Linked DNA regions of Homo sapiens: regions 2, 3 and 4 are each linked to region 1. Evidence: promoter capture Hi-C in 16 types of primary human blood cells and fetal thymus (Javierre and others, 2016). All regions are on one chromosome and are shown on one strand. Each heading gives the region's core, a stretch centred on a gene start or on the middle of the fragment in contact. The rest is flanking DNA. Distances are from core to core; before and after follow the strand shown.

What was found. The method cuts DNA at HindIII sites, captures the fragments that hold promoters and counts their contacts. A CHiCAGO score of 5 or more calls a contact.
Region 2: the fragment with the promoter of TBCC here is called in contact with the fragment with the promoter of FRS3 in region 1 in 1 of 17 cell types (fetal thymus); the score reaches 5.7 in fetal thymus.
Region 3: a fragment that was not itself captured here is called in contact with the fragment with the promoter of FRS3 in region 1 in 2 of 17 cell types (total CD8 T cells and naive CD4 T cells); the score reaches 5.3 in total CD8 T cells.
Region 4: a fragment that was not itself captured here is called in contact with the fragment with the promoter of FRS3 in region 1 in 5 of 17 cell types (total CD8 T cells, naive CD8 T cells, neutrophils and 2 more); the score reaches 10.3 in total CD8 T cells.

The regions. Positions count from the first base shown.
Region 1 is chr6:41,778,481-41,781,255 of GRCh38, reverse strand. FRS3 (fibroblast growth factor receptor substrate 3) reads left to right here and starts at 1,356. Exons shown (of 7, transcript NM_006653.5): 1 at 1,356-1,440. It overlaps PRICKLE4 (prickle planar cell polarity protein 4), which reads right to left and starts at 474. Exons shown (of 8, transcript NM_013397.6): 1 at 430-474. RefSeq lists silencers at 691-760, 1,041-1,450, 1,481-1,630. The HindIII fragment of the contact is 6,259 bases long and covers 1-2,468 here.
Region 2 is chr6:42,744,701-42,747,475 of GRCh38, reverse strand. TBCC (tubulin folding cofactor C) reads left to right here and starts at 1,373. Exons shown (of 1, transcript NM_003192.3): 1 at 1,373-2,775. The coding sequence starts at 1,403. The coding sequence ends at 2,443. It also overlaps a transcript of BICRAL not described here. RefSeq lists a silencer at 315-374 and enhancers at 317-1,280, 1,345-1,554, 1,585-1,664, 1,725-1,884. The HindIII fragment of the contact is 2,174 bases long and covers 1-1,392 here.
Region 3 is chr6:42,571,161-42,573,935 of GRCh38, reverse strand. It overlaps UBR2 (ubiquitin protein ligase E3 component n-recognin 2), which reads right to left. Exons shown (of 47, transcript NM_001363705.2): 2 at 1-202. Among named protein-coding and RNA genes, the nearest start is that of UBR2, 8.5 kb to the right of the region's middle. RefSeq lists enhancers at 977-1,026, 1,117-1,176. The HindIII fragment of the contact is 744 bases long and covers 960-1,703 here.
Region 4 is chr6:42,550,922-42,553,696 of GRCh38, reverse strand. No RefSeq gene overlaps it. Among named protein-coding and RNA genes, the nearest start is that of UBR2, 12 kb to the left of the region's middle. The HindIII fragment of the contact is 1,400 bases long and covers 690-2,089 here.

The DNA.
Region 1 (2,775 bases), core at 107-2,606:
CACCTCCACCTAGCACTGGAACACCCTTACTAACAGGCCAGCTGGATTCCTTCCATAATTCCCTTCCCCCTCCCACCTCAGATAAGGGACAGAGCTGAACCCCTTGTCTTGCCTCCGTGCAGAGCCTCCGTGCAAGAGGGCTCAGGAGCTGGACATCCCCAACACCCGCTGCCCTGAAGGGCAGAGCCCGAGAGGACTTAGGGCTTGGGGAGGTGGAGGGATGGGAAGATTTCTGGGGACAGTGGGAGGGAGAAGGAAGGGGAGTGCCCAGTCCCGCCAACTGCCCTCTCGATAGATCCCCAGAGTTTTTCTGGAACTTGGCGGGCCCGCCTCCGGGGCTGGGACGCGGTGTTTCCCGAGTCCGCTGGGGTTCCCGGTCTGGCTGCTGGGATTTTAGGGGAGGGGACCAGGACTCCGCTGGGGTCTCACCCTCGCTGTGCGTCGCTGTCCGGGCAGTTCTGGACCGACTCTGCCGTCAGGCCCCTCACCCGGTCCCCACCCCAAGGCTTCAGCGCCCGCCCCCGTCCGCCCCCGCCCGCCCTAATAGCGCGGCCCTTCCTCTCCCACGCCCCAGCGGCCCCCGCCCGCCCCTCCCCGGCTGGTGGAGAGGGGCGGCTCAGGGAGGGGCCTGGAGCTGCAGATTGGGGGGAGGAAAAAAAAAAGGAAAACAAAACCACATTTATGGGATCTCAGGGTGGAAATGTGCGGGCTCCATGGCCTCTGCCATGCAGGTGCAAGGGCTCTCTGGCTCGGACTGCGCCCGGCAGGCATCCAGCAGACGCCGGGAGCCGCGTTTACGCTGGGTTTTCAACCATTCGCTGAATGGAAACGCCTCGCCGGGCCCGCAGCCCTGTCTCTCCGCAGTTCCCAGGTCTCCCCAAACTCTCCCTGTGGTCTCCCAGCCCCGCTCCTCCGCGTGTTTCCCTTCAGTTCTCTCCCCCTTGTCCCCAGTGGTCCCCCTGGCCCCTTCCCCTCCCCTCAACCCTCTTCCAGGTTCCATCGTCTTGCCCTTCTCCTTTCAGGTCCCTTCAGACCCTCTCCCCTTCCCTTCGTTTCTCGCCCAACCCTCCGTCCCCTTTCCGCTCCCCGGACCACCCCCAACTTTGGTGTCCTCAGCCCCGCCTCCGCGCCCCGCCTCCGCCGCAGGCTCCGCCCTGTCCCCTCCGGGCTTGCTCAGCCCCTGGCCAGGAGCGCCCTCTGGCGTCTGCGCATGCTCACTGCTCCCGACTGCAAAGTCCTCCAAAGGGACCTTCTAGGCTGCGTGCCGGTCGCCCCCGCTCGGGTCCGCCAGCCCGCAGCGTCTCGTTGGTGCTGCCGGTGACCTCCGACCCCGCGGCCGCGGGGCGGGGCGGGGCGGGGAGGCCTTAGCTCCGGGCGGGCGGCGGCTGCTGCAGCGGGACCCGGGAGCGGGGCCCGGCGCCGCCCGGGCCGCGGGGCGATGTGAGTCGGGGCGCGGCGGGGCGGGGACGAGGCGGCTTCACCGAGGCCGCGCCGCGCCGCGCCGCGCCGCGCCGCAGTCTCCACTCCCTCCCTAGGAAGCCCCGGGCGGGCGGGCAGGCGGCGGAGCACCGGGGCTGGGGGCGGGGATCCGGGGACAGCGCGCACCCAGACCTCCTCATTCCTTACGGGCATGTAGAAATTCCCCTTGACAGTCCTGTAGCCTGTCCTGCAGCCTCTGGCTCCCCCAACCCACCTCTACCCTCTCCGCCCTGGACACATCATCGCATCTCCTGGAGCCCTCAGAACCCCCTCATTCACTCAACAAATCTCCTGCTATGCCCACGGACCCACCATTTCTCTTGGATGCCCCCAAATGCTTCCACTGCCCGGAAATTCCTAGGATCCCTCATATCCCCATTCTCCTTGCACTATCCAAAATGCCCACATCCAAAATTCTTGCTCATGTTTCCCCAAACGTCCTCATACGTTTTCAGCCCCCACACCCCCCTCTCACTCCTGCCCCTGATCCATACCTATCCCAGACCAGAGGCCTCTCCCCATTTCCACTCAATGCAGTCCCTCCTCAGTGGGCTATCTGATACATCCTGATATCTTAAGGAGAAGAGATGGTGATAGGGAAATTCAGCCCCTCCCCCATCTTGCACCCTAGAGTTCTTCGTTTCAGTGCCCGCGCCGTGCCCCCGTCGGTGGCTCAAGCCCCAGTATTTTCCCAGCAACCTATCTTTAGTCTGTGCACACCTCCCTGAGCCTGCTTCTTCCTTCCAGAAAATAAGCCAGACCAAGGGGATGGGGTCCTTTTACCTGGAAGTTGTCCAAGGATGCAGGGTGCAAGGGGCCCTGGGAAGTGTTTCTCCAGAGCAGGAATGTGGGATGTCCAGGGTCTGCAGAGTCCTGGCTTGTTGACTTGTCTACCTTGGGCTCAGATATCCTGAAATTTTGGCTTACTGTTAACATTTATGTTAAAATTAGGCCTTTCAGAGCTTGGGGAGCAGAAAATCTATCAAGCTTCCAAATGCGAAATTGAAGCAGCCTGTCTTGGAAGATGAACATGTCAATTTTAGTGAAGTTTGTCTTACGTTTTTACCTCTGCAAGTTATTTAAGCTAGAAGCTCCCCAGTTTATAGATGGTTCCCCCAAAAACTAAGGCCTTAGGTGGGAGTTGGGGGGGGCGTTGACTTAAGTCTCCCAGATACTTAGTAGCAACAAAACTGACCGATATATTGGTTTCCTGAGTCTTAAACCAGTGCTGTCTCTACTATATCACAGTGTCCTTTTGAGAAAGCTCTTTGTAGAGTTAAAGTTCTCTGCAAAGGT
Region 2 (2,775 bases), core at 124-2,623, 970 kb before region 1:
TTCAATGGTTCGCGTTTCCTCCCATCTTTCTCTGCATCAAAATGCAGGTAGATCGGTGAAATTTCAAGTTTCTTGGGTCGTTAAATACCCCAATTTAAACGATGGAGGCTGGGAACTGGGGATATAAGGAGGAAACCTAGGGTTGGAAGGGCGGGCAGGGTTAAAGAGGTTCGGGAGCTCCGCAGATCTGAGCGAAGCATGCGAGGCTGCCGCGCCCGGGCAGCGGCTGCGTCTCGGGTTCTCGCCCTGCCCGCTGCCTCGGGTTTTTGCCAGTGACTGCGCCGTCTTGGCTGCCCACCCACACCTCGGGTTGGTCCCGACTTTAGGCTAGGCCATTCACTTCCGGTGACAAATCCCTCCCACCACCCCTAGAAATAATGTACCGCTTCTCCCACCGCTTTCCTAAGACCGACCGCCCCAGAGAGCCACGGAGCCCGGGGCTAGGGTCTCACCCCAGCGCGGCCGGCGACGCCCAGCTGCGGAGGGAGTGGCCGGGACCGAGCTCGGGGAGGGCAGGGAAGAAAGAGGAAGGGGGTGTGGATCTCACCTTCCCCCGCCCCCACCCCTCCGACTGCAGCAATTGGCCAAAAAAATAGTAATCCTTTTATGGACTCCCCCAGGGCCCCTCGAACCAGGTTGCAGTGAGGAACCCAGTCTCTCCCATCGCAGTGCCCCTTGCCTTCTCCTGCCCTAGTAACTGCCTGCGGGGATCCAGGAGCCCCCAGGCCGCGCCGAACTGCAGTGGATAGGGGGGAGGGGGGCGGTAAGGATGAGGGCTACGGGGAGGCAGAAATGGGTTGGGGGAAGGGGTGGTGGAAGGGAAAAGAAAAAACCGGAGGCATGCAAGCGGCTCCCCAGCCAGCTGTTCCAGCTGCTGCTTCCTCCGGCGCGGGCCAGGCGGTGCAATATTCCCCCCCGCTCCATCTTTCTCACCACTACCTGTCCCCCCAACCCACCACACGCACTCATCCCTCCCACCCACACCCCTAGTAGCGGATCTCCGGCCTGTAAGGGGGTAGTAGGGAGGAGCTGGGGGGAGGGGGAGGCCTGCGAGTTTCTAACCTTGTTCTTATAAACAAACCCACATGTGCAGCTGCCGCTGCTGCAACTCACCCCACAATCCCGGATATAAGTCCTGCCCCTTTAAGAGGAAAAAAAAGATTCCCCCGCCTGCCTCCCACCCCACCCATCCACAAGAACCTTTGTCTTCCCACCCCCATAGTCAGTCGGCCCCGCCCCATCTCCCCGCCCCCTCCGACGCAGAGGAACCAATAGGCGAAGAAAATAAGGCCGGGGATCTGACATCATCATGTTAGGCCAATCACCGGACGCGTTGGTGGGAGGCCTCACGGACAGCGCGCCCGGAGGAAGGAAGACAAGAGAGAGGAAGCTTGAAGCCAATATGGAGTCCGTCAGTTGCTCCGCTGCTGCTGTCAGGACCGGAGACATGGAGTCCCAGCGGGACCTGAGCCTGGTGCCTGAGCGGCTTCAGAGACGCGAACAAGAACGGCAGCTGGAAGTTGAAAGGCGGAAACAAAAGCGGCAGAACCAGGAGGTAGAGAAGGAGAACAGCCACTTTTTCGTCGCCACCTTTGTTCGGGAGCGAGCGGCCGTGGAAGAGCTTCTGGAGCGCGCGGAGTCGGTCGAGCGGCTGGAGGAGGCGGCCTCTCGGCTCCAGGGGCTGCAGAAACTAATCAACGACTCAGTTTTTTTCCTAGCCGCTTACGACCTGCGGCAGGGACAAGAGGCGCTGGCGCGGCTGCAGGCGGCCTTGGCCGAGCGGCGCCGGGGGCTGCAGCCCAAGAAGCGTTTCGCTTTCAAGACCCGGGGAAAGGATGCTGCTTCGTCTACCAAAGTAGACGCGGCTCCTGGCATCCCCCCGGCAGTTGAAAGCATACAGGACTCCCCGCTGCCCAAGAAGGCGGAAGGAGACCTCGGCCCCAGCTGGGTCTGCGGTTTCTCCAACCTGGAGTCCCAAGTCTTGGAGAAGAGAGCCAGCGAGTTGCACCAGCGCGACGTTCTTTTGACCGAACTGAGCAACTGCACGGTCAGACTGTATGGAAATCCCAACACCCTGCGGCTAACCAAGGCCCACAGCTGCAAGCTGCTCTGCGGTCCGGTGTCTACCTCTGTTTTCCTGGAGGACTGCAGTGACTGCGTGCTGGCAGTGGCCTGCCAACAGCTCCGCATACACAGTACGAAAGACACCCGCATCTTCCTGCAGGTGACCAGCAGGGCCATCGTGGAGGACTGCAGTGGGATCCAGTTCGCCCCTTACACCTGGAGCTACCCGGAGATCGACAAGGACTTCGAGAGCTCTGGTTTAGATAGGAGCAAAAATAACTGGAACGATGTTGACGATTTTAACTGGCTGGCCCGGGATATGGCCTCCCCAAACTGGAGTATTCTTCCTGAAGAGGAGCGAAATATCCAGTGGGACTAAGCAGTTGTCACTCTGTTCTTCACTCCTACCAAATACTTTCCACGTTGGACTTTCCCCCTTATTGGGTCTCGAAGTTTACTTATTGTCACACTGTGTATGTTTTCAGCATTTTAAGGCTAGAGATTGTAATGGGCTCCTACTTGTAATTTCCATTAAATTCGTAACAGGTATAACACTAAAGCATTTTTGCTATTTTCGTCATGCCTTTGAGACTGAGTCTTACTCCGTCCCCCAGCGTGGTGGCGCGCTGGGATTACAGGCGCGCGCCACCACGCGAACTTGTATTTTTAGTAGAGACGGGGTTTCGCCATGTTGTCCGGGCTGCTCTCGAA
Region 3 (2,775 bases), core at 82-2,581, 790 kb before region 1:
TGTTTGCTTGCTCAAGTTTTGGAAATCCAAATGCAGGATCTTCACCACAAAGGTACCATTCCATTGGTCCCAACAAAACATGCTGTGCCAGCATGTCTTCTTTCTGTGGAAAAGGGTTGGGACCCCTGCAGTAGATTTTGGGTACATAGTGGGCTAAATGCTGGTACACTTCTCTAGTGAGGTCAGTTGCTTGCAGCCATTTCTTTAAAAGAAGAAAAGAGAAGAAATGGTTTTAAACACCAACAAACTAATTTGAACAAATTCACCCTACTTTCTTTTAGGTACAAAAATAATGACAAAAGCATATTAAAATATTTTGTTTACAACACTCACCACCGTACGTTAGAAATTTAATCTATTAAAATGCCAAGTATGTTTAAATCCTACTTTTAAGTGTAAGTAAAATTAAAATGAAACAAGCCTCCCTCCTTCCCTGCAAAATGACTCTTGAAGCAATCTTCTCTAGGCAGTACCAGAAAATAATTACAAGAAATCATTATATAAGATATGAACCATTGAGCTCACCTAATGTCCTTCCTAATGCTTTGCTCAAATGTTATTCTCATTGTGATATCAATTCTCACGTCAGTTTGTCCATAGGAAGAGTGTACGGTGAATATGAACAGCCAATATGTACGGTGAACATGAACAGCCAATACACATTTCTTAATGATTGATAAGCAAGTTTATATACCAGTCTCTTATTGAATAAGTCAGTCCACAAGAGACTGTTGTACCAATTATGCCTTCTTTCTCTGATCAACTTCTCTCTCTCTATAAGGCCTTTTCCGTTTGCTCTCCCCACTAAAAACAAATTTTAAAGCATGATTCTACTTAGATCTCATAGGTACCAACTCAATAACTGAATGCATGATCTCCCCTCCATGCTCCACCAAAATCTGTTATTTTCTCCATTTCCAGCTCAACCTGGGTATCCACACCGAAAAATCTGAAAAGCTTCCCAGCACTTTGGGAGGCCAGGCCAAGCAGATCACCTGAGGTCAGGAGTTCAAGACCAGCCTGGCCAACATGGTGAAGTCTCTTCTCTACTAAAAATATAAAAATTAGCTGGATGTGGTGGCGCATGCCTGTAATCACAGTTACTCAAGAGGCTGAGGCAGGAGAAATCGCTTAAACCCAGGAGGCAGAGGTTGTAGTGAGCCAAGATCCAGCCTGGGCGACAGAGCAAGAGTCTGTCTCAAAGGACAAAAAAAAAAAAAGACTCACTTCTGCTAGAATGCAGTTAACTGAACCGTGAACAAAACCCACAGATGGAGGGAAAGAGGAAGGGGAAGTGAGTTGAAAAACTACCTATTGGGTACTATGCTCACTACCCAGGTGCAATATACTCATGTAACAAACCTGCACATGTATTCCTTAAATCTAAAGTAAAAGCTGAAATTAAAAAAAACCTCCAATGTTTACCTATGGATTACTACCTAATTCCAGTTACATTTTTATTTAAAAAAAAAAAAAAAGTATGTTCAAGTGATATGTAACATCATAAGAAGTCAACATAAGGTCTTCATTTTAGCTATTACTTGTATATTCTTCAGACCACTCCTTCTAAAAACAACATACAGAGAGATTTTAAATATGCATGAGGTGATGTATATTAACTTTCTAGTCAATTTCTGTTTTCAGAGAACTTTTACTAAAAATGTAAAAATTTTGTTCATAAGTTAAGGGACTGGATAGAAGCTTATAACCAAAAACGGTGAAAGAGTTTTCATGCTTAAAGTGAAACTAAACTATTTTCCAAATATTACTAACATTGTTGTGTTTACATTATGCAAGTAGGAAAGAGACTAAATTACTTTCAAAACAACAGCATTTCTTCCCTGGTGGCCAAGTGGTTAGGGAAAAAAAAATAAAAATAAAAATAAAACAGCAGCAGCAGCATCATTTCTTAGGAGACAATCCTACAGGCTTTAAGTATTCTCTCCCTTCAGAGTGACTCAATCAAAATTTTATATATACATACACATCCTTTAAGCTCAGTAATTATAAAGAGGACAAGTTTTAAAAAAAGAAAAAGAGTCCTCAACAAGCATACTAGAATCTTATTCTTTGAGCTAAAAGACCTCGTTTTGGCCTCATTCAAAGGTAAATGTCTCATTTTTCACCCATTGTCAGCAAACCAAAACAAGAATGAAGGTAGTCAAATGATCCTAAGCGCTTTTTTTTTTTTTTTTTTTTGAGTCTCGTGCTGTCGCCCAGGCTGGAGTGCAGTGGTACGATCTCGGCTCACTGCAACCTCTGCCTCCCAGGTTCAAGTGATTCTCCTGCCTCAGCCTCCTGAGTAGCTGGGGTTACAGGTGTGCACCACCACACGCGGCTAATTTTTGTATTTTTAGTAGAGACAAGGTTTCACTATGTTGACCAGGCTTGTCTCAAACTCCTGACATCAGGTGATCTGCCCACCTCGGCCTCCCAAAGGTGCTAGGATTCAATTTACTCTTTATGAAAGAAAAATTAAGCAATAAGACCAAAATAATTCACCTCCATGATCCTAGAAAGTTAAGTGCTTCGGACTTTTTTTTACAACATATTGAAAGATTTTATTTAAAAACCAGTTTTTTTCCTTATATTTTATGTTCCCATTCCTGTAAAACTTCACTGTTGCAAAATTTTAATACAAGAATGAAAGGTTACTTTAGAAGGGATGCTTTTTTTTTTTTTTTTTTTTTTTTGAGACGGAGTCTTGCTCTGTCACCCAGGCTGGAGTGCAGTGGCGCGATCTCGGCTCACTGAAAGCTCCGCCTCCCAGGTTCA
Region 4 (2,775 bases), core at 140-2,639, 770 kb before region 1:
CCATTGTACTGAGACACATCCAGTGGTCTATAAATTTTATCTTGGGCTGGGCGTGGTGGCTCATGCCTGTAATCCCAGCACTCTGGGAGGCCAAGGCCGGAGGATTTCTTGAGGCCAGGAGTTCGAGACCAGCCTGGGCAATATAGTGACACCTTGTCTCTACAGAAACCTTAAAAAATTAGCGGAGCATGGTGGTGTACACCTGTGGTCCCAGCTACTCGGGAGACTTAGGTGGGAGGATCACTTGAGCCTGGGAGGCAGAGGTTGCAAGAGCTGAGATTGCTCCACTGCACTCCAGTCTGAGTGATGGAGCGAGACCTTGTCTCAAAAAAAAAATTTTTTTAAATCTTTTCTTTCCTTCCTTCCTTCCTTCCTTCCTTCCTTCCTTCCTTCCTTCCTTCCTTCGTTTTTTCTTTTTTTTAAACAGTCTTGCTCTGTCACCCAGGCTGTAGTGCAATGGTGCCATCTCGACTCACTGCAACCTCCGCCTCCCGAGTTCAAGCAGTTCTTGTGCCTCAGCCTCCCCAGTAGCTGGGATTACAGGCATGAGCCACCGTGCCCGGCCATTTTTTCCCCCCAGTCTTGTAGAGATCTCTCCTGGAGTTTTCTATCTACTCCAAAACGGATTGGTTACCCTGTTGGCCTAGTTCCAGAGGTAGATTTCCCATGAAACTAGTAAAGCTTAAGCTTCAGGGGCCCTCACTGGCTTCAGCAATGAATTCATATGGTCATAAGTTACATAAAATTTGCAAAATAAGATATTTTAACTGTGATTGGCTAAACTGCTGTCTCTTTCCTGTCTAGCTTTTCCTCAGTCGCATTTCCTCTCACATTGCTGTTTCGGGATCAGACCAATGGGAAATAAATAGGAGATCTTAGCATGGGTTTAGTTAGATTATTTATGTAGTTCACAGTCACAGCTATGTAAAGTTGGGTTATTGTCAGCCATTCCAGTAGGAATTGCTTCCAGAAATATTCACACCTCTTACTGTCGTAATTCACCCTGGGTGCAAGGGTGAATATGCACCACAGAGGTGCGCCTGTAGTCCCAGCTACTATGGAGGCTAAGGTGGGAAGATGGCTTGAGCCCAGTTGAGATCGTGCCACTGCACTTGAGCCTGGGCAGTATAGCCAGACCCTGTCTCAACAACAACAACAACAAAACATTTTGCTATACTTTTTTTTTTTTTGAGACAGGGTCTGGCTCTGTTGCCCAGGTGGGAGTGCAGTGGCACCATCTCGGCTCACTGCAACCTCCACCTCCTGGGCTCAAGCCATCCTCCCACGTCAGCCTCCCAAGTAGCTGGGACTACTGGTGCATGCCAGCACATCCGGCTAATGTTTGTATTTTTAGTAGAGATGGAGTCTCACCATGCTGCCCAGGCTGGTCTCAAACTCCTGAGCTCGAGCAGTCCATCTGCCTCGGCCTTACAGGTGTGAGCCACCATGCCCCGCCAGCAAAATGTTAAGTGTAGAATTTAGATGACAGGTATATGGTGTTCACTGTAAAGTTCTTTTAACTTTTGTATAGGTTTGAACATTTTCATGAAACACTGTTGGAGGACAAGTATATAGCTGAAAAATAAAGGAAAAAAGTATTATAGACAGGGATCAAGCAGTTAATTCATTTAAAAATTCTATCTTTTGGCCAGGCGCGGTGGCTCACGCCTGTAATCCCAGCACTTTGGGAGGCCAAAGTGGGCGGATCACCTGAGGTCAGGAGTTCAAGACCAGCCTGGCCAACATGGAGAAACCCCGTCTCTACTAAAAATACAAAAAATTAGCTGGGCGTGTAATCCCAGCTACTCGGGAGGCTGAGCTAGGAGAATTGCTTGAACCCAGGAGGCAGAGGTTGCAGTGAGCTGAGATCACGCCATTGTACTCTAGCCTGGGCAACAAGAGCAAAACTCTGTCTCGAAAAAAAAAAAATTATTTTTCTAGATTTTGTGATGTCTGTGGTATTTTTGTTAGCTTTTAAAATTTTTGTTGTGATTTCTCATTGTAAATAAATATTCATTTTTATACCTAATTTTGTATTTACAATTTTGTATTTTACTTTTAAGAAGAGGACCCTCAAATTGCATAAGCTTCAGGCCCCACAAGACCTGGATCCACTCCTGCCTGGTACACAGCTGACATTCTCAAAGCTATTTTCACTTTGACTTCGGAATTTCCAGTCTCCATATCCTTAAGATTCCTTTCATCCCTCCTGTGTTGAAGCTTTCATTTACTGGATCCTATGTCTCCTTAGTGTCTTCATTCTTGAATTCATCCTCCTTTTGATGAGTCATATACTCCAATAGCTTCCCAAGAAAGGTTGCATAAGAAATTCATTTTTGAATTTATTGTAATCATGCAATGATTTTTATTCTGTTCTCCCACTTGATTGATAGTTTGCCTGAGTATAGAATTCTAGGTTGAAAATAATTTTCCTCCAGAATTTTGAAGGCATTTCCCAATTGTCTTCTAGCTTCCAGTATTGCTACTGAGAAATCTAAAGACGTTCTGATTTCTGATCTTTTATTTCTGATCTATTTTTCTATCTCTGGAAACGTAAAGGATCTTTTTATCCATAGAGTTCTGAAATTTCATGATAATGTGGCTTGACGTGAGTTAATTTCCATCTATTGGTTATGGGTACTAAGTGGGCCCTTTAAATCTGAAAACCTGTGTTTCTAAGTTTAGGGAAATTTTAGAGAATTAATTTTAAAAATAATGTTATCTGTTTCTCTCTTTTCTCTCTTCCTGGAACTCCCAGGCTAGTCTTCTCTTTTT